Linked DNA regions of Homo sapiens: all the other regions are linked to region 6. The links are contacts of gene promoters, found by promoter capture Hi-C in blood cells and fetal thymus (Javierre and others, 2016). All regions are on one chromosome and are shown on one strand. The core of a region is centred on a gene start or on the middle of the fragment in contact, and the rest is flanking DNA. Distances in the headings are between cores, read along the strand shown. Region 1 holds the start of DYNC1I1 (dynein cytoplasmic 1 intermediate chain 1). Region 2 holds the start of PDK4 (pyruvate dehydrogenase kinase 4). Region 3 holds the start of SAMD9 (sterile alpha motif domain containing 9). Region 4 holds the start of HEPACAM2 (HEPACAM family member 2). Region 5 overlaps RBM48 (RNA binding motif protein 48). Region 6 holds the start of CASD1 (CAS1 domain sialic acid O acetyltransferase 1). Region 7 overlaps LOC105375409 (a long non-coding RNA gene).

Region 1 (2,700 bases), core at 140-2,639, 1.3 Mb before region 6:
GTACCCTCAGCTTGCAAATTGCACTGAATATTCCCTTTTCAAATTTACTAACACTGATCAACGTATATCTCTATAATTTCCACAATTAAAGTATGTACACAGACTGGTTACCCATGTCTGTGTTAACATCAGGCGTTGGGTTGTCACCTGCAGTTGCCTATGCCTTACTGTTAGCTATACTTTTTGCTAATCTGGAATATTTGGAAGCAATTCTTCACAACTCTGAACTACAATAAGTCTACAATGCCCACTTGAAAGGCATTCCAAGCAAGAAAATGGCTGGCTACTTGTTCCTGCCCCTTACCTAGGATTAGTAGAGGCCAGAATAGCGAATATATTCCATCTTCTGCATGTTGTTGAGTCTCTGATCTCCTATGTAATTTCCTGTCCTGATCCTGGGCTTCTGTTTAATCTTATTAGCCAAGGTACAAGTCATGAGACTCCCGCACACTCAGTTCCCATCAGCGCTGCCAGGATCACTGCCCTTATGATGACGACGCACGGATTTATAAGGCCAGAGCGATTCCGAATGGGAGCGGGGGAAGGAGAGCCAGGCGGCCGTGAAGGTGTTTACCAAAACAACATCCCCCAGCCACACTTTTTCGCAGCAGAGAGAAACTGGCATCTTCTCGCTTTGAAGTGTTTAATTAATGCCCTGCTGGAAGTGAATTCGCTCCCTCCGACTTGCAGGGTAGTGACAGCATCTAAGAGCTTTGCAGACAGCTCGAAATGTAATCAAACAGCATCCTTTCCCCTCCCTCTGCAGCTTTCCCCCTCCTCCAGGGGCAGTCAGCCGGTGGCCCAGAGGGGTGCAGATTTCAGCGCCGCTCGCCCACTGCTCCCCCGGGGAAGACCGAGGCGGGGCGCACTGGGACGCCCTTCCCAGCCCACAAGGTGGGCGACCAGGTGGTGACACCACGACCCTTCCTTCTCTGCCCTAGTCTCTCGGCTCTGCCGAGAGGGGGGTGTCACTGGGGGGCTTTGGCCGCCTTCGGGCTCAGCGGAGCACGCAGGAGCCTGGGCAGGGGGCCAGGACAAGGGTCCGGCTGCGGCTGCAGGGGCCTCGGCTCCAGCCTGGTTCCCAGCGCAGACGACACCGGGGTGGGGAGGGTTGGGGAGAGGTGCGGAGGCGGCCGTCCGGGGAGCGGCGACATCCCGCTCCAGTTTACCTGGACGCGCTCGGCAGCGGCGGAACTGGGCTCCCCGAGCCGGCGGCGGCTCCTGGGCGGCGGCAGCGTTGGTGCAGGCGGCTCCCGAAGGTGGCGGGGCCGGCGCGGGCAGGATGTGCTGTCTCACGCTGCGCCGGCCGCTCGGCTCGCGCTCCTCCGGGAGCGATCACTTCCTCTCTCCCAGAGCCTGACACTGACAGCTCCCCGGAGCACTCAGTCTGCGGGGCTCGCCCCGCCCCCTGCCCACGCCCTCCACGCCCGCGCCCCTCCTGAGGGAGGGCCTCCGCTCCGCGTCTTCCGCGCCCGGTCTCGCCAGGAGGGGGTGGCGCCGCTCCGTAGGCTGGTGGCGAGCAGAGGACCTGGAAAGGTCAATTCGTCTATCCCTCTAACGTCGGTAGGACTTAGACCTCAGTTGCTGCAAAGAGAAGAGCTTCAATATTCTGGGAGCTCCTGCTGAAATGCCACCATTGAACAACTTTCACTCCCAGGCAACTACACTTCTTAAGGTCATTTAAATAGAAATAAAGCTCAGATCTACCTGTTGTACACAATGACTTATAGGTCTGATTGATCCCAATTTTTCTAGAAGAAAAAAGAATTAAGTGTGTGTGTCTGTGTGTGTGTGTGTGTGTGTGTGTGTGTGTGTGGTGTGGTGTGTGTGTAGCTTGTCTTCACATTGCTTCTTAAAGTCCCAGCTTTTAAAAATCTGGGTAACTGGCCAGACGCGGTGGCTCACGCCTGTAATCCAAGCACTTTGGGAGGCCGAGGAGGGCGGATCACCTGAGGTCGAGAGTTGGGGGACCAGCCTGACCAACATGAAAAAACCCCGTCTCTACTAAAAATACAAAATTAGCCGGGCGTGGTGGTGCATGCCAGTAATCCCAGCTACTCGGGAGGCTAAGGCAGGAGAATGGTTGAACCCGGGAGGCGGAGGTTGTGGTGAACCGAGATCCCGCCACTGCACTCAAAGCCTGGGCAACAAGAGCGAAACTCCGTCTCGGGGAAACAAAAAAAAATCTGGGTAACTATTATTGGACTCTGCAAAAAACAAGCTTGCCACAACAGCTAAGTTATAAGGCCAAAAAATTGAGTTTGGGATGTTAGGGGGTTTGGTATCATTTTATAGATGAGCTTTTCATCATATTTCTTGCACATCTGTGGTGTATTTTTACACATTAGAATGTAAATTAGTGGAGGGCAGGGACGCTATCTTGTTCACTGCTGTATTCTTAGTATCTAGAACAGCATTCTGATATATAATGGGTACTCAGTAAATATTTATGAACTTATTAATTCACAAGTACTACAGTAATTTCAAAATAAATACAGATTCTAGTATGAATACAGTATGAATACATACTCATCTGTAAATGGCCATCCTTATTCTAAAACTTTGGCCTCCCTGGCTAATCTACTGCGATTGTAACTATGGCTAGAAATGAAGAGGTTAAATGTCTAGGTAGAAGGTATTCAAGGTATTCCAGAAGGAAAAATCTAGGAAATAAATATTTGCCACTACCGTGACTGAATA
Region 2 (2,700 bases), core at 83-2,582, 1.1 Mb before region 6:
ATAAATAAAGTAATTAATTAATTAATTAAAATAAAATAAACGCAGGGGGAGGAGGCCAAAAAGGTTTTTTATAACAAACTATCATTTTTAACACCTCATAAATTCCCATTCTATTACATTTGTAACCAACTCTCTTACTCCCAACTTTCCCAAACACGGTGGCTTCATTCCCTAGTCCTTTTAGAGTGTCGGGAGAGGAAAAGGAGGTTAGTATGACAGGGTAATGTGTCTCAACCACTGTCATTAATTTAATAAATATTGAGTAGTGAAAAAGTAGGAATCACAAAGCTGCATCAGACAGGGTCCCTACCCTGATCTCTTTCAGGAAAGGGGGGAGTCAGAGAGGGATAATATAAAAACATAAATAGCTATAGAATAGTACCATGAAAGACCAAGGCCTTATTTGGAAGAAGTGAGGAGAAGTAATCAAGGAAGACCTTTTGCAGCAGACAGCTTGTGCCAGACATTTGAGGGTAGAATGGAATGTCTTAGGTAAAGATTTGGAGTAAGGACATTTCGTACAGGGCAGAGTGAACAAATTCTCTGATCACCGCAAAAGGTAAGGCAAACTGACAAATTGATCCCTTTTTAATTTTGTTTTTAATTAACAGAACTAAACCTAACGGAAAGAATGTGTTGCCGGAGAAGAACGAATTGATGGCCTTTTATTACCACAGGAAAAAGTAAATGTATCTGGGCAGCCCCTCAAGTCTCAGCAAAAGGAACGTACAGTTCCTGCCATGTGCCGGTCTCTTCTGAAGAAAAGGGGGCGGTGGGGGTGGGGGCGCAGGTCTTTAGGTTGTTTATTCCTTTCTCTCTGTCCAGTGGCAGAGAAGCCCATACTTTTGAACGCAGCTTGTTGGCTACTGTAAAAGCCCTGCTCTGAGCAAGGACCAATGAGCACGCGGAGTCCAAACTCTTGGAAACAGTTTGTGGCCAGGAGTACTTGACATTGAGACAGCCTCCGAGTTGTAAACAAGGGCGAGCCTGGGCGGGACCCCAGCCCACGCGACTCGGAGCCCCGTCCCAAGAGGCTAATCTTAAGCCCACGTTGCCCCAGATACCTGTTTCTGCTTCCTCTTCCCTGTTCTTCCCACCCTTTTTCCGTCACAGCCGCGGGCACCGGTGCCAGGGCACTCCGTGGTCACCGTGCCAGGCCATTCTGTGATGACCGCGGCTGGAGGGGCGGAGCCCATAGTTCTTTCTCTGATCTGATTGGCGCGACCTGGAGTTCAGGACGCGTTTCCAAGTTCCAGTGACTCCTCCTGTTTGGGACTCGGGGGGAGAGTGCGGGGAGACAAATAAAACCTCGGGCGGCGGCGGCTGGTGGGAAGACTTGAACTTGAATCTCGAACCACTGCATCTCCGACTCTGCCCAGACTCTTCACTCCGCGGCACCCTCAAACCCCAGCCCAGGCCGGGGCGCACAAGCCAGCCAGCGCACCTGCAGTCCTCGCCCGGACGCGCCGCGCCCCCTCGGAACCAGGCTCTGCTCCGAGCAGCCTTCGCCCCTCAAGCCAGCCACAGTCCCCGCCAGGCCGGGTGGGCGTCAAGATGAAGGCGGCCCGCTTCGTGCTGCGCAGCGCTGGCTCGCTCAACGGCGCCGGCCTGGTGCCCCGAGAGGTGGAGCATTTCTCGCGCTACAGCCCGTCCCCGCTGTCCATGAAGCAGCTACTGGACTTTGGTGAGAGGGGACACAGGGCCCAAGCTGGGTCCTAGGGTTGGGGAACTGCCTTAACTTTCAGCCTTGGTAGAGGGAGGGCTAGGCTCAAGCTAAAACAACTGGGGTTCACTTTGCTGCTGAGCCCTGGAGCCTCGACGCCAGCACACCTTTCCTTTTCCTAGATTTGGTTACTTTCTGACAGGGGTGCCTCCAGGTCAAGGCCACCTGCAAGCCTGCCGACGCTGGATGGTTTGACTTCATCTGCACACTCTTCTTTCTGACCCGCTCTTCCAGTCAAAATACTTTTTGCTTTCGGTCACCGTTTAACAATGGACTGGAAACTTTATCCTCTCCTTCACAGCATAGTACTGCTTGGAGAAGTTTCTGAATAGTATTAAATAGCCTCAAATTAACAGATTTTATTCCTTAGCCACCTGGCATCCTTCCACAGGGTACATCTCTCTGCATTCCTGACAGATTTCTTTGTCTCTTTATCATTATAGTTTTCCATATATTTGCATTGTTGCTGAAAATATTTACACATTTGTTGCAGTAATCTTATAAGGAAGATTTCAAGGGTTTAAATGTGATATCACTACTCTGGAAATATCACAGCTCCCCCTCCAGCCTCTTATCCCCCAACTCCAATTCCATGTCCCCACTCATTAAAGGATGTTGTGTTGTTGACATTGTGGTGTGACCGAATCCTGCAGTCTTTTATAAATTCTAAGAACTGTGGGATATTCTTACTTCTTGGAAGTGAATCCTCTTCAAAAAGAGAAGACAATAATTCTCCTATATCTGTCACTTTTTAAAAGAAAGAAGGAAAGACGAAAGGACGAAGGGAATTAGTCAATTAAGGAGACAATCGCCCCTGAATTATCGATTAACAGTAACCCAACTGAGAGTGAAATATAATTTTATAATATATGTGTGTTCAATATTTGATAGTTAATGCTATTTAGATATATCATTTAGACACACTTTTTCTCAAAACTAAATTGATTTCATTTATTATAGGTTCAGAAAATGCATGT
Region 3 (2,700 bases), core at 177-2,676, 1.4 Mb after region 6:
CTGAGAAAGCAAGCAGACTCATGACTTTTCTTTTTGGCATCTCAGAGAAACTGCAGTGGCGATACAGTTCCTTCAAAGGGTCTGTGAATTCTCTTGGCTTTCCTGGTATGTTGCTGCAGTAATTCTTGAAGCAAAAGTTCATGATGTGAGTCTCCACATGCTGTCCTGTCTGTCCCAGCAGGAGCTGCAAGCTAGTCCTGCCTCCTCACCCTCACAGAACCACCAGAATAATGTTTGACCAAATATCTAGGCACTCTGTGGCCCGGTCAAGTTGACCCATAAAATTAACCATCACACTGGTCCCCATGCAAAGTGAAACCCAGGTTTTGGAGTTCAGGCCCAGGGTCCCCTTACGAGGAGGGCTCCTGAGGGTGATAAGTGTAATGGTCATATCTAGGCTGTCCTTCATAGCCACTTTCTTTCTTCCTAAACCTCAGGATTTAAGAGCACTGGCCTGAAACCTGGATTCGAATCTCTGCCATGTATTAGTTATGCAAACTTTAGCCATATTATTTAATCTCTATGCCTCAGTTTCTTCACCTTTAAAATTGAGATAAAAATAATCTCTACCTCAGGAGATTGTTGTGAAGAGTAATTAAGTTAATATGAAACATTTAGAACAATGCCTGGTACATGGTAAGCGCCCAATAAATATTTTAAAATAAATGTTTTTAAATGTTTTCATCTAAAACCAGTGTGAATCAGTTGTGGGATGTGGAAACCAAAAGCTAATTGAGCACACACAATAAATATCAGTACTTGCTGTTAGTTTTTAAAATATCAGCTATTTTTGTTGCTCTCACTCAGGCAGTTTTCTCTCTGGCCCTGACACTGACCTTAGAAAAGATAAATCTCTACAATGTGACCATCAGGTCTGCTGCAGCCCTGGTCTGCTCTGCAATAAATGAATTTAGCACTTATTGGGGTGCTCAAAGAAGTCCTATCCCTGAAAGACATTCTTTACACTTTAGGAAAACAGGAATGGACAGTAACTCCACCCTTAAAGGCCAGTGAAATATTGACCTAGAGTATCTCCAACCTGGTGCTCTACAAGGCTGGGACTGCAATGTAAACTCATATTCCCAAGGGATCAATTAAGCCAGAATATCCCACAGTTTGTCTATAACAAGACAATGGGGCTTTCTGCAGCCCTCAAAACTCTCAAGTGAGGAAAAATTGTTAAGCCTTCAGATTTTAACCAAGCAGACCAGAAGGTGGTATATAGCCATAGCTTATTAAAAAGCATTTCAGATAGAAAAGGCGGTGCTGTAATTTCAGATCTGAGAAATGAAACTGAAACCAAACCTATATTCTTCCTTCCCCAACCTCCCAGTTGTTAAACACGCCCTGCTGTTTCTGAGCCAATTAGAGCTTGCTGTGAGACAGAAGCAGAGAATACATAGACTTCCGTTAAAACCAGAATGAGGAAAATACTTTTCTCTAGCATCGTAGGAGGAAGAAAACAAACACATCAGATATTTTCAGCACTAAAAGAGATGGTTTTCCCCACATATATGTAAAAGAAATTTGCAAGACTACTGGGTAAGTACAATATCTATTATTAATATTGTTCTTACTATCTATAGCAGCATTTTATTGAATAGAAAGAAATATACTTTTCAATTAGAAGCTTCAAATATACCTCAAAACAAAAAATAGTATTCTAAGCCTAGAAATTCTAGACTATTTGTTGCTCTGACAGCAGTCTGCTTTATATTAGTTGAAAAATTAGTCATAACATTTCATTAAAGATGCAGTTGAAAACTACAGACACTTTTATTGATGAACTCTCCCAAGGCATACAGCATCTTCAGAAAGAACAAACAGGCCAGGTGTGGTAGCCTGTAATTTGAGCACTTTGGAAGGCAAGGACAGGAGAATTGTTTGAGGCCAGGAATTCAAAATTAGCTTGGGCAACATAGCAAGACCCTACCTAGCAAGATTCCTACCAAAAAAAAAAATAGCTGGATGTGGTGGCACGCAGCTGCAGTCTAGCTACTTTGGAGGCTGAGGCAGAAGGATTGCTTGAGCCCAGGAATTTAAGGTTACAGTGAGCTGTAATTGTACCACTGCACTCCAGCATAGGCAACAGAGTGAGACACTGTCTCAAAAACAACAACAACAACAACAACAACAACAACAACAAACGGAAAGATAGATAAAGAACAGGCAATGAAAACTTAAAAGTACTTTACTTTAATCAAATACAACTTCCACCATCTACTCTAAGAAATAGGTAGCTTCCAGAAAACAAAACTCTCTGAGAGCTTCTCAGATATTGTTGTCGGATGACATACATAGGAAGACAGACAGACAGATAGACTACTATGGGAAGTCTTTGGAATTAAGGCAGCTTTATGTTCCTGGCAAAAATACTAGGTTTATGTCTAATTTCTCCCCAAAGCAAACAGTAAGATAATGCAAGACGGTTGGAGGATCACATTTCTGAATAAAGGTCTGACCTTCAACTCCCTTCTAGAAAAGTTAACAAACCCTACAGTTTAACACCAACCAGAGTTAAAAAATGTATGTGGGTTCAATCAGTAACAAATAGTGTTTCCTACTAAGATGCTCAGAACCAAATTTTCAGGTCAGTTTTTAAAGTATACGGAATCAAAACCAGTAATTTTAGGTACTAATTTTACTCCCTCATTTCACCTTTTCTCCCCCTACCCTTATTTAGCCTTCCCCATGATTTCT
Region 4 (2,700 bases), core at 39-2,538, 1.3 Mb after region 6:
GTGTACCAGATTTAGAGACAGTGCAGAGAAAGTTGTGGCATTGTTATTATTTTGCAGGGAGGTGGGGGAAGCATGAGGAGCTCTTGCCATTTTTCTGAAGCATGGAGGGATCTGAAAGTGACTGATCTCTGAAGAGGACTTCGTTTTCCCAATAGTCACTTACTTTCTTTGCTTATAGAAGTCCTTCTAGAAGAGTTCAGAGCCCTAATGCAAAGAGTGTTTCCAAACTTGGATTCCAAAGTTACTATCATTCCTTTTTTACTTTAATTATGCTTGAGGTATAGTCTTCCTTCCCCTCTTATCATTGAACTTCTTCAGTGGGCCTTTACTGTTAAAACTGATGCATGCAAGGAATTTTCCTTGATTTGATGATTTGATGCAGATTTGGATATATCCTTAACATTTTATATAACAAGGCTAGAACCAGAGCCTTCTTGCAAATAGGGGTTAACTAATAACTTAGTAAATTAAGCGGACATGCTTAGACTATCTGCTGCCATGACAATGGAGAGACCAGGTTGAAAACCTGTAACCTGGACACTGCAGTAGAGGTAAGATCTTTTCTAGATCATTGGTTCACTTCCTCTATGCATCAGCTGTGAAAATGTGGCCTCAGATACTATCTCCTGGCATGCACTTTTCATTATAATTATGCATGGTCCATGCCTCAGTCCCAGTTGGAAACACACCTGTGATTTGCTTTTAAAAATAAGATGAATTCAAAGATTAAATGAAATCAGTCATTGTAATAGGAAACACTGCATAGAAAAAATACGTTTTAAATATATTCTGGATCTCTCTTTTGATTCATTGGTAGAATTTTTACATGTTAGTGACTTCATGAAGATTTATAACTGTTTAGCAGATACATGAGCTACTTCAATTTTCATATAATTTTTTTTAATTTTAAAATAATAATGGCATAGTTCTGCATGATAGAAAACCAGCTTTTGTTTTTAAGGAAATCTCACAATATTCTTTCATTATGAAAACATGCCATTTTTCAGTAAAGTCACGCAAAAGGATGTTTTCCTTCATGTGATTTTTTAATAACTAAGTATAATTTATGAAATATATAGACAATTACTGGTAGTTGCTAAGAAACTCTTCTGAAAGCCATAAGCCTGTATTCTTGCTAAGCACATAACAGGTGTTCCCACTCCCTGTGTCCTTTGTATACACATTCATTCTGTATTCAAATCACAGAAGCAAGAGGCAAGATAGGGTCTGTTACCTCACTGCTAATTTCCCTAGCAAATAAACCAGCAGCTGCTGGTCCAAGTTACCACTGAGAACAGGGCACTGCATGCATGGGACAGGATGCTTTCATGGAGCCCTTCGGTGACACACTTGGGGTCTTTCAGTGCAAAATATACCTCCTTCTCTTCGGTAAGGCCCTGTGTGAATTGTGTTTTAGCTGTTTGTTAGGTTTTTTTTTTTTAATTGTGGACATAAGGTAAATATTTGCTTTAGGCTGTAGATGCATTCAGATAATTGAAGAGCAGGTCAGAACCTTTTAACAATAACACACTGTTACAGCAAAGAAGCAGGAACATTTAAGAGAAATGAGTTTCAATAAATAGATTGTTATTGTTTTCTTGGAACAACAATTATTGTCATAGCACTCATTAAGATAATTCAGATATTTTTAAAAGATAATGAATTTCTTCTTTTAGAGTTTACATATAGGTTCAATAGTCTTTAATGCATTTATTTCAGCAAATATTCTAATAGGCCATGAAATTGTGACCACTTAGAGTGAAACTACAAATAATTTACGAAAATTGTTTTCTTTTTAATTAAAGATATTGTTGCAAACTGTTTACTGCTTCGTTTTAAGTTATCTGTCTCATCTTATGAAATATGGAAGAAAGGTAAGATTCCAAACTAACAAAAAAATTTCCTACACAAAAGGGAGAACGTATTTGAAAAGATTGTTACTCCAAAATGCCTTTAGCTTTTCTCTTTGCCCAATGGCTAGTCCTATTAAGAATTTTTTTCTACCTTAATATTTTCCCTCATTCTCCTCTTTATCTTTTGAGTTTAAAGGAGTCTCTTTCCAGCATTCCAACTGCTGTCTGTCAACATTATTTTCACCAGATGTTCTCATTTCCATTCTTCCTATTTATCAGTTTTAAAAGTCAAATCAATTTCTTGTTTTGTTTATATTCAACAGATAGGAGTTCAATTAAGGCTACATTTTTTAAAAATTAAGAACAGCTTAGCAAAATAAGCAATTTAACTTTTAGGCTTCTTCAGCTATTTAGAGCTTTACTTTCACTCCTATATTTTGTTAAAGTTTGCATTGTAAATGTTATTATTCAAATTCATACCTACTGTTGTACCTATCTCACACATTTGAAATGTACAGTTTGTAAATTTTTTTAAGTCTTTGAGTTTCCCAGAGTTGTGATTGTTCCAGTTATCACAGTATTTATGTTATCAAATTTAAGCCTATAATAGATTTTTGTTTTCTAAAATTTTTTGAAAAAGTAAATAATTATTATAACTGTCACTACCTTTGTGCATTTGTCTTCCTTTTGAAAGTATCCTGGGTCATCATCCCACTTATTTTTATATTTAAAACAGTAGGACTACTATCATTTTATAAGTGTTGTTTTTGAAACTGGCGTTAAGAAGAACTTAGAGACAATTTAGTTAAGGAATTCAACTAAAATAAAACAAATGTACATTAGGAAA
Region 5 (2,728 bases), core at 65-2,564, 2.0 Mb after region 6:
TCCTAGGCTGTCACCAACACTGAGATGATTAAAGCAGTTAAAAAGTAAACTCTGGACAGAGTCCAAAGCTTGGGTTTTAACCCTTATTTTGTCTTTAATTCATCTCTAATAATATAGGCAGGTCACAAACTTTCTGAGACTTAGTTTCCTCACCCAGAAAAATTAGGACCCAGGTCAGATAATGTCAAAGGTCTTTCTCCACATTAATATTTTATAATTTCCTTTGCCACACAAACATACAAGTTTTCCTGGTGCTATTTATTTACTTATCTTACAAGTTAGAGTTCAATGTCTGCAGATGACTGGGGATTCTCAACAGCTCTCTTACCAGATTTCTGAGTAAGTTTTCCAAGAGTTTTCCCACTTTATTTCTCTCCATCACTATGTGGTAGAACAGGCATGTGGGGGCATTTAGCCAATTGCTGGTCAAAAGTAGAACTTCTCCATGATTAGCAGTGACAACTATATGATTTGACAACTGCAAATCATAACTGCTTCTCACTGCATTCTGGTCAAAGCCTTAATTCCTTAGCATGGGACACAAGGCCCTCCATGATTCACTTCTTACCCACTTTTCTAAACTTATCTCTCACTGAAACCTTTGGGCTTTGGTTATACTGTATTAATTAAAGTTCCTTAAATGCATGATGCTCATTTATTCCTCTAAACATTTAAACATCTTGCCTGGCTTGCCTTTCCATCTTTTCCTCTCCCATTTAGTTAACGTCTACTTATCCTTTAAAATTCAGCCACTTCTCACATACTATAGGAAGTCTTCTATGAACCAATATTTCTCCCTTCTCAACCCAGATTATGTAGTGTGCTGCAGAGAACCCTGTGGTTCACAGTTACTGAATACTGTGATGGTTTACTTGCCTCTCCTACCACTAGACTGGGAATTGCATGATGACACACCTGGCAGAGTGCCTGACACACAGGAGGCATTTAGCAATATGCTTTCCATACCTTTATTTTCAGTAGTTTTTACTACATATGCCTTCCGCATTTGTAGTTTTTTTCTAGTTTCTTCAACTGTTTCAAATTCTGGAGCATAGCACACATGAAGCAATCCACCGAAGAAACTCTGTTCATCCATTTTTCTCTTGGCTGTCCTGAATGGAAATACAAGATAGCATAGTTTTTTAATCTAGATTTACTTGGGATGAAAGCTTAACTAGTATGCAATATCTGGATCTAAAGAGCAAAGTCCAGCTTTTGCTACGTGTATATATATCCTGTGGATTGGGAATTAAGATGCTCTGCTTGTGGACAGTATTCATCCCATTGATCGAGTATGTACTCGTAGAGCCTCCCCTTTCCTTCCCTTTGAGCCTCTTTGTTCCCTAGTCTTTAAACAACTAAGGACCCAGCTGGTTGGCCTGAAGTATGTAAACTGTGGTCATAAAATGGAGCTTTTCTCTGTGGCCCTGAAGAGTTGGTTCATACCCAATTAAGCTTTTTCAGCACTATGTATTTCTGTGATGGGATTCATGCCTTAAAAATCAGATGAAAGATACTATAATCATAAAACATTCAATAACTGAGGAACTATTAAATATATAACAATGAGAAAATGAGAAGAATGTTATTCAGTCAATAAATACTTACTAAACATCTATGACTGGCCAGGTACTACAATAAATTTAACTACTTCTATATCCAGGGATAATGATAAATACTTGTTGAGATTTCACCATATGCCAGGCAATGTCATAAGCGCTTCACTTGAATTAACACCTAAAAACAACACTGTAATGAAACTGAAGCACTGGGACATTATGTAACTTAGCCATGCTCATAGTCTGGTTTGAGGAGCAAGGATTCAAATCCAGATGTCTTACTTCAGAGCCTACCAGACTACGTACTATAGAAAACAGAAAAGCTCTAGAAAATGTTTCCCTAACCATGGGAGCTGGCAGGTTGGTTAAGAAAGTGAAATTACATATAACAGCAGCCTGAGAAAACCACACAAGACCCAGTAAAATCAAGTGCTTTTGTGGTAGACTATGAGTTCTACTGATAGCACAAGAAAGAAAATATGAATTGTAATAGCCAGAGAAGGATGGGTCTCAGAGCAGATTAGTGAGGAGAACAGAGATCAATATAAAAATAGATAAGGCACTGCATACTTCAGCCTTTTTGGAGCAGAGGATTATGTCACATAGAAGGCTGGAAAAAACTGAGTCAGTTTGCAGAAAGGAGTAACAGTAGAAACCACAATAGCTAATGTTTACTGTATTCTGACCAGGATACACCTTTATATGGATTATCTCATTTCATCCTCATACAACCCCAAGAAGTAGATAGGTCCCTTTACCATACAGATTTTATGGAAGAGGAAAAACTTAAACAGGTTAAATAACTTGCCCAAGATCATGAAGCTAGTAAGCAGTGGAAATGGAAAACTTACTCCAAACCCAACTTTTTTTTTCTTTTGAGACAGAGTCTCACTCCATCACCCAGGATGGAGTGTAGTGGCCCATAAGACTCACTGCAACCTCCACCTCCTGGGCTCAACTGATTCTCCTACCTCGGCCTCCCAAGTAGCTGGAACTACAGGAATGCACCAACACACCCAGCTTGATTTTTGTATTTTTACAAAATACAAAATACTGGCCATGTTGGCCAGTCTGGTCTCGAACTCCTGGGCTCAAGCAATCTGCCTACCTTGGCCTTCCAAAGTGCTGGGATCAAATCCAACTTTTTCTTTTTTTTTTTTTGAGACAGT
Region 6 (2,700 bases), core at 156-2,655:
AGAGCTGGCCAGATAATGGCTTTGATAGTATTAAGAGCCAAAAATAAAAGATCCTATCATTATTAATTTCCCTCTGCCTGTCAGCCTCTCTCCCAGTGACATTTTTACAAAGGAAAAAAAACAATCAATCAGCAAGGAGAAGTAAATATCCCTTGATTACTGAAAGATAATTCATTCTCAAATCAGGTCATATTTCCTTTTCCCCTTTACACCAATTTCAAAACCCATGGCCAAGGCCTGCTTTCAAAGTGCTTACAACTTGCTTTCAACTGCCCACCTTTACGCCTGTCAACCCACAACTTCCTTCCAAAAATCTGCTCTGGTGCCTTAACTTTGTAAAAAGTGTGCACTCCGAAGCCTTTAAACGTTTCTGCATCACAAAAGCTGGGTGGCACCTCTTCCATTTGGCCACAGGCATCTTTTGCCAGCTGTCGCCCTTTTGGCAAAGGAAAATGGGGGCGGCCCTTGCCGCTGTCCAACAGCCCAGACTGGGTGTTACAGGGCAGAGGCAAAATTAAACAAAGGCTAAGGAGCCGGACCCTTAAGAGGCAGGACCTGCGACCCCACTGCTGGCAGCGGTGCCCCTTGCAGGGCGGCCTTGGGCTTCATGCGCCCCGGGCTGCCCCCAAGGACCGCCTGTCCGACTTCCTGCACGCGAGCCCCTGATCTGGAGCGTCTCCCCGAACCCAGACCGCTCAGGAGCCGGACCTCAGCAGCACTTTTGGCCAGGTCCAGGGTTGGCGCCCCCGACCCCAGCGCGGGCGGCTCGGGGCGCCCAGAACCACCAGCCATTGTCCTTTGGTGGCCCCCACTGGGGTCCACTCAGTTGGCCTCGGGCGCCGGCCGCTGCTGGGGACACCTGGGGGAACCGCCTCCCCCGCGGGCCGGGCCGGCGGAAGGCCGCGTGGGCGTGTGTTGGGCGATGGGGGCGGCCTCCAGCCGCCGCGTCGCCGCCTCCCCCACGGCCTGCCCGGGCAGAGGGGAGGGCCCGCTCACCTCGGTAGCGGCGGGAGGCGAGGTGGCACGCTGCGAGCAGCAGCACGGCCACCAGCGCCAGCACCTTGGCGCTCCTCACGCTGAAGTAGTGGTTGATCTCCCGCTTGCCCAGGTTGTAGGCCAGAGCCGCCATCTTGGTTCCTCCATGACAACAGTGCGCGGCGGAGCGGGAAAGGGGCGCCGCACAGGGGCAGCACTGGGGCTGCCGCCGCTGCAGCCAGGCGAGGAGCGGCCGCCAGCTCCCCAGGCCGCCACCTGCGCCTCCCGCCGGGGAACCTGACCCCGCGGCCGCGGCGCCCCCGACCTCCGCCTGCCCCTCCTCGGCCGCGGCCGACTCGGCGGCCTCCCCCCAGCCCCGCCGCCGCTGCTCCGCCGTGCCGGTTCCCCAGGCGCCCTGGACGCCTGTCTCCTCCCCTTCCTCCTCCTCTTTAGCCTCCTGCCTTAATAGCGGCTGCGCCTGCGAGGGGGGTCCGGATGCCCAGTGCTCCGGGGTCACCGGGTCACGCGCCCCGGCGGGCGGCGGCGGCTGCGGCAGAGCCATGGGGGTGTGGGGAGAGAGTACTAGGGGTACCCGCCTGGCCCGGACGCGAGCCTTAGGGCTGTCTCCTAGTTTACTGGCCGCTACCTGAGCCCAGGTTGGGGCAATAGAACTACAGTTCCGGGAGAAAAGTACACATCGTCCCATTCCTTCCTTCCCCAACACTCCCCTTTCTCAGCCTTCTACTGCCAGAACCCGCCCAGCGGGATGCGAAGGACACCCTAAGGTCGTTTATTGTCTGGCTATCCGTGGCCTGGCTGGTCAGTCTGGCTGCCCCTGGGTGCTGGCCAGATTGGATTGATGGATCCAGTTGATGGTGCTGGCCGATGGATTGCTGGCATCCAACCCAGGAGTGAAACCAGTCTTAACACTTAACTCACCGCTCTGGCCAGTTTCTCTTAAACCGTTTTTTTAATGTCCTCAGTTTGCCCAGTTCTGGTGGGCGAAAGTACACCAAAGTTCCGAATGGAAGGTACAGAAGGAGCCTAACTTAGTGTAGGTGTTGATGAGAAAAGAGTCTGACTCTCACTTGTATTTACGCAAGTTTGGCTAGGTCGATGTGCCAAAAAAATTCGTTTTTTTTGAGAGGGAGTCTCACCCTGTCGCCCAAGCTCTAGTGCAGTGGCGTGATCTTCGCTCACTGCAGCCTCCCCCTCCTGGGTTCAAATGGTTGTCCTGCCTGAGCCTGCCGAGTAGCAGAGATTGCAGGCGCCCGCCACCACACCCGTTTAATTTTTGTATTTTAATAGAGACGGGGGTTTCACCATTTTGGTCAGGCTGGTCTCGAACTCCTGACCTCAAATGATCTGCCCATCTCGGCCTCCCAAAGTGCTGGGATTACAGGCATGAGCCACCAAGCCTAGCCAAAAAAAATTTTTCTTAATGTGCTTATGACAATCATCCCCGCTACTAACGTTGGTTAATGTTTTGTGATTCTCAATAAAGCCAGCACTCCATTTCCTTAATAAAGCATTGTTATCCCTACTCTCCTCTCGCTCCCACCCCACCTTTTTTAAATGGTTTTTCTTGTTGCCTTCCAGATGGGAATGGTTATTTACATTGCTTGCCATTCTACTTGCCTTGCCTTGTTTAGAGTGAGTCATTGTTTAGTTGGGGTGTTGTCAAGTATTCTTTACAACTTTCCCATTTAGCCATTCCTGAACTTG
Region 7 (2,700 bases), core at 129-2,628, 1.2 Mb before region 6:
AAACTGACTGAAGAAGAAAAAGAAAATCTAAATAGTTCATATGTACACGTTAAATAAATGATCCAAAATTATAATAAAACTTCCCCCATTCACACCACCAAATAAATTTTACAAAGCTTTCAAGAATAAACTTTAGTTAAGAGAATAGATATGACACATCACAATCCAATGTGAGTAATGTCACTGGTGTCAGTTTTGCCTCTTCAATAGAAATATATACTACTAAATTGATTTTATTTTCTTCAATGTCCTATAATTTTCTTTTATCAGGTCTGTTCCAGTTACTCATTTGGAATTTGCTGTTAAAGATACTTCATGTTCTGGGAAGACAACTGGCTGATCCTAGGCTTCATTTTACCAGGACTCCTACAGAAATGCTTCCTCCTAACAGTTTAAATTTTTCTTTTCATTTCGTTTATGCATACTCAGGCATTTTTCCTGAAATTATTGATATTTATGATTCTGTATGTAGTAATGCTATTATAACATTATTTGCACAATTACATTTTAATAGATAATATAGGAAAAATGTGATCAGGAAAGATAAAAGAATGCCATGTTTCTAGTTTAGAGCTCTGGGTTTTGTCTCTGTAGTCTAAGCTTATCCTTACTGTTTTTGATAGTAACAGTCCCTTCCTTTTTTCCCTTTGTTGGAACAGCAGAAGTTCTTTACTTTTGGGCTGCATGAAAGCCATTTATCCCTATGTGGTCTACTATTCTGTCTCATGGGGCTTACCTATTCTTAAGATGGTTCTATCTATTTCTTTTCATGTCTAGAATAAGCAGAAGTTCTTCTTATTCTTTCTTTTATTTTCTATTAGGTTCTTCGGTGTGTCCTCAACTCCCCTACCTTCCCCATCAGTTCCTTCTTTTTTTTTTTCTTTTGGTCTATTTCTTTTAGATCTGCTCTAGTACCAAATAATCTCCACATTTTTCAGTAGTCTAATAACAGTGTCCTTACCATGTTTATCTCAACTGGGACATCATTACATCCCACCTGTATTTTTAGTTGCTCTTATAATTGTAGTTGGATCTGGGGACATCCTGCCTTGTAAGTGTACTAACCTTAATTACACTTACATAAACAACAATTCATCTTATATGTGTGCATTACGCCCATGCTCTCTCTCCCAGTTTTATCAGTATTGTTTTACTTTTCTGAAACCCTTCCACAGTTTAGCTGTTAAGCTCTTGTTTGGATTTTACCATCTAATTTTCCACCCTGCAAACATCCACTTCAGATAATGACTGAATATTTCACTGATATTTTCAGATATTGAAATAATGACTATCTTTTGTCTGTGACCTGTATGTTGTCTGAATTCCACCCCTTCCTTTGCTTTTTAATGTTAGTGTGGTAGTGTCAAGGAACATGATATCCATATATCCATTTATTGCCATGTGGTTTCTAATTCTCTAACTTGATATCTGAATTCTTTAGCAATATTTTGTAATTAATAATATTGTGTATTATATATTTGCCATATTTTGTATTTATTATTCTGTGGTTGAACCTATTTTATGCTCGCTATAGCATAGATTTTTTTTTTAGTAATCATGACTGGTCACTCTCTGTAAATCCTGTCATATGGATTGTTGAAATCTCCCATTAGAGTGTTAATTGACGGGCCCAGAACACCCTGGGGTCATTATATTCATCAAAATATTTATGATATGCAGCACCATCTGTTGGAAACAGAGGTTTATTTCTTCTCTTTTTTCCTAATTCTGTCTAGATCCTCCACTGTTTCAAATCATAATTATCACATCCTTTACTGTCTAGTTTTCTCTTATCCATTTGGTCTAAGCATCTTGGGAGTAGAAAATCAACTCACCTTCTATTTTAGGTTTAAACATAACTGTGTATATTTCTAGTAACTATTTGTTTACTTTTAAAAATCATGTCTGCTTAGTCTGTTACACTAGTAAATATTCCTTTACTGAGTTACAATATCTTTTAAATTTATTCGTGTTTTAAGATTGCTAATGAATTTCTTTCAGTTCTTGATCTCAAATTCTATTTTGCTTTAGTCTTATACACATACAGAAGCATATCATTCTAAAAACATGATGCTGTGCATATATACATAAAGCTAACAGAGATTCAGAAGAACATTTACATTCTGAAGGTGCAAAAAGGTCAGGCTCAAGCTTAATAACAATCCCGGAGGAGAAAATGTCATGTCATTATGTGGATAAATGCATCTTATTATCAGGTACAAAAAAATGTATAAATATAATTTGTGATATGTTTCCTGGAAAATGAAATAGACAAATCAAGAGTTTCAAAAAATGGTCCCAAATCATGAGTTCAGTGAGGAGTGGAGAGATGCGGCTGTACTAGTTTGATATTAAGAGATGCAAGGAATCTAAATTAGGCTTGGTGTGAGGAGCTTGTTTGTAGAAAAGTGAATAAAAGGTGATAATGCATCATGGTGGGGTGGGGTTGAAACAGTGAGTCTATGGGGTGAGTGCAGTAATATCAAAGGATACATTAAATGGCAAAAATGCACTGGTTAAAGATTACCGAGAACCAGCTGTGTGCCAGGCTGCAAATTCAGCAGGTTACATGTACTCGCTCTCATACTACACCAGCTCTGCAAAATGGGCAGGGTTGTGCATATTTACACATGAAGAAACTAATATTTCATATTTACACATGAAGAAACTCGTGTTTCAGAGATACTTTTTTTCATTTAC

What was found. Contacts are between HindIII fragments. The CHiCAGO score rates a contact against its expected background, and 5 or more counts as called.
Region 1: the fragment with the promoter of DYNC1I1 here is called in contact with the fragment with the promoter of CASD1 in region 6 in 6 of 17 cell types (M2 macrophages, M0 macrophages, erythroblasts and 3 more); the score reaches 18.2 in M2 macrophages.
Region 2: a contact is called between the fragment with the promoter of PDK4 here and the fragment with the promoter of CASD1 in region 6, in 2 of 17 cell types (M2 macrophages and total B cells). The highest score is 5.5, in M2 macrophages.
Region 3: the fragment with the promoter of SAMD9 here is called in contact with the fragment with the promoter of CASD1 in region 6 in 1 of 17 cell types (naive CD8 T cells); the score reaches 6.6 in naive CD8 T cells.
Region 4: the fragment with the promoter of HEPACAM2 here is called in contact with the fragment with the promoter of CASD1 in region 6 in 3 of 17 cell types (non-activated CD4 T cells, naive CD8 T cells and total CD8 T cells); the score reaches 6.3 in non-activated CD4 T cells.
Region 5: a contact is called between a fragment that was not itself captured here and the fragment with the promoter of CASD1 in region 6, in 1 of 17 cell types (naive CD8 T cells). The highest score is 6.5, in naive CD8 T cells.
Region 7: a fragment that was not itself captured here is called in contact with the fragment with the promoter of CASD1 in region 6 in 1 of 17 cell types (M2 macrophages); the score reaches 7.1 in M2 macrophages.

Annotation. Positions count from the first base shown.
Region 1 is chr7:95,771,243-95,773,942 of GRCh38, reverse strand. DYNC1I1 (dynein cytoplasmic 1 intermediate chain 1) reads right to left here and starts at 1,389. Exons shown (of 17, transcript NM_001135556.2): 1 at 1,170-1,389. The HindIII fragment of the contact is 2,753 bases long and covers 1-2,223 here.
Region 2 is chr7:95,595,148-95,597,847 of GRCh38, reverse strand. PDK4 (pyruvate dehydrogenase kinase 4) reads left to right here and starts at 1,332. Exons shown (of 11, transcript NM_002612.4): 1 at 1,332-1,684; 2 at 2,684-2,700. The coding sequence starts at 1,555. PDK4-AS1 (PDK4 antisense RNA 1) reads right to left here and starts at 1,169. Exons shown (of 3, transcript XR_001745287.3): 1 at 1,065-1,169. RefSeq lists a silencer at 1,757-2,051. The HindIII fragment of the contact is 12,066 bases long and covers 1-2,700 here.
Region 3 is chr7:93,116,705-93,119,404 of GRCh38, reverse strand. It overlaps SAMD9 (sterile alpha motif domain containing 9), which reads left to right and starts at 1,426. Exons shown (of 3, transcript NM_017654.4): 1 at 1,426-1,542. The HindIII fragment of the contact is 4,352 bases long and covers 1-1,632 here.
Region 4 is chr7:93,225,057-93,227,756 of GRCh38, reverse strand. HEPACAM2 (HEPACAM family member 2) reads left to right here and starts at 1,288. Exons shown (of 10, transcript NM_001039372.4): 1 at 1,288-1,389. The coding sequence starts at 1,311. The HindIII fragment of the contact is 7,149 bases long and covers 1-2,700 here.
Region 5 is chr7:92,530,788-92,533,515 of GRCh38, reverse strand. RBM48 (RNA binding motif protein 48) reads right to left here. Exons shown (of 5, transcript NM_032120.4): 3 at 967-1,112. Among named protein-coding and RNA genes, the nearest start is that of RBM48, 3.4 kb to the right of the region's middle. The HindIII fragment of the contact is 286 bases long and covers 1,172-1,457 here.
Region 6 is chr7:94,508,514-94,511,213 of GRCh38, reverse strand. CASD1 (CAS1 domain sialic acid O acetyltransferase 1) reads right to left here and starts at 1,405. Exons shown (of 18, transcript NM_022900.5): 1 at 997-1,405. The coding sequence starts at 1,129. RefSeq lists silencers at 742-1,101, 1,202-1,351, 1,392-1,611 and enhancers at 145-1,131, 1,132-2,120. The HindIII fragment of the contact is 8,005 bases long and covers 1-2,700 here.
Region 7 is chr7:95,694,733-95,697,432 of GRCh38, reverse strand. All of the region lies in intron 2 of LOC105375409 (a long non-coding RNA gene), which reads right to left. Among named protein-coding and RNA genes, the nearest start is that of DYNC1I1, 76 kb to the left of the region's middle. The HindIII fragment of the contact is 1,551 bases long and covers 603-2,153 here.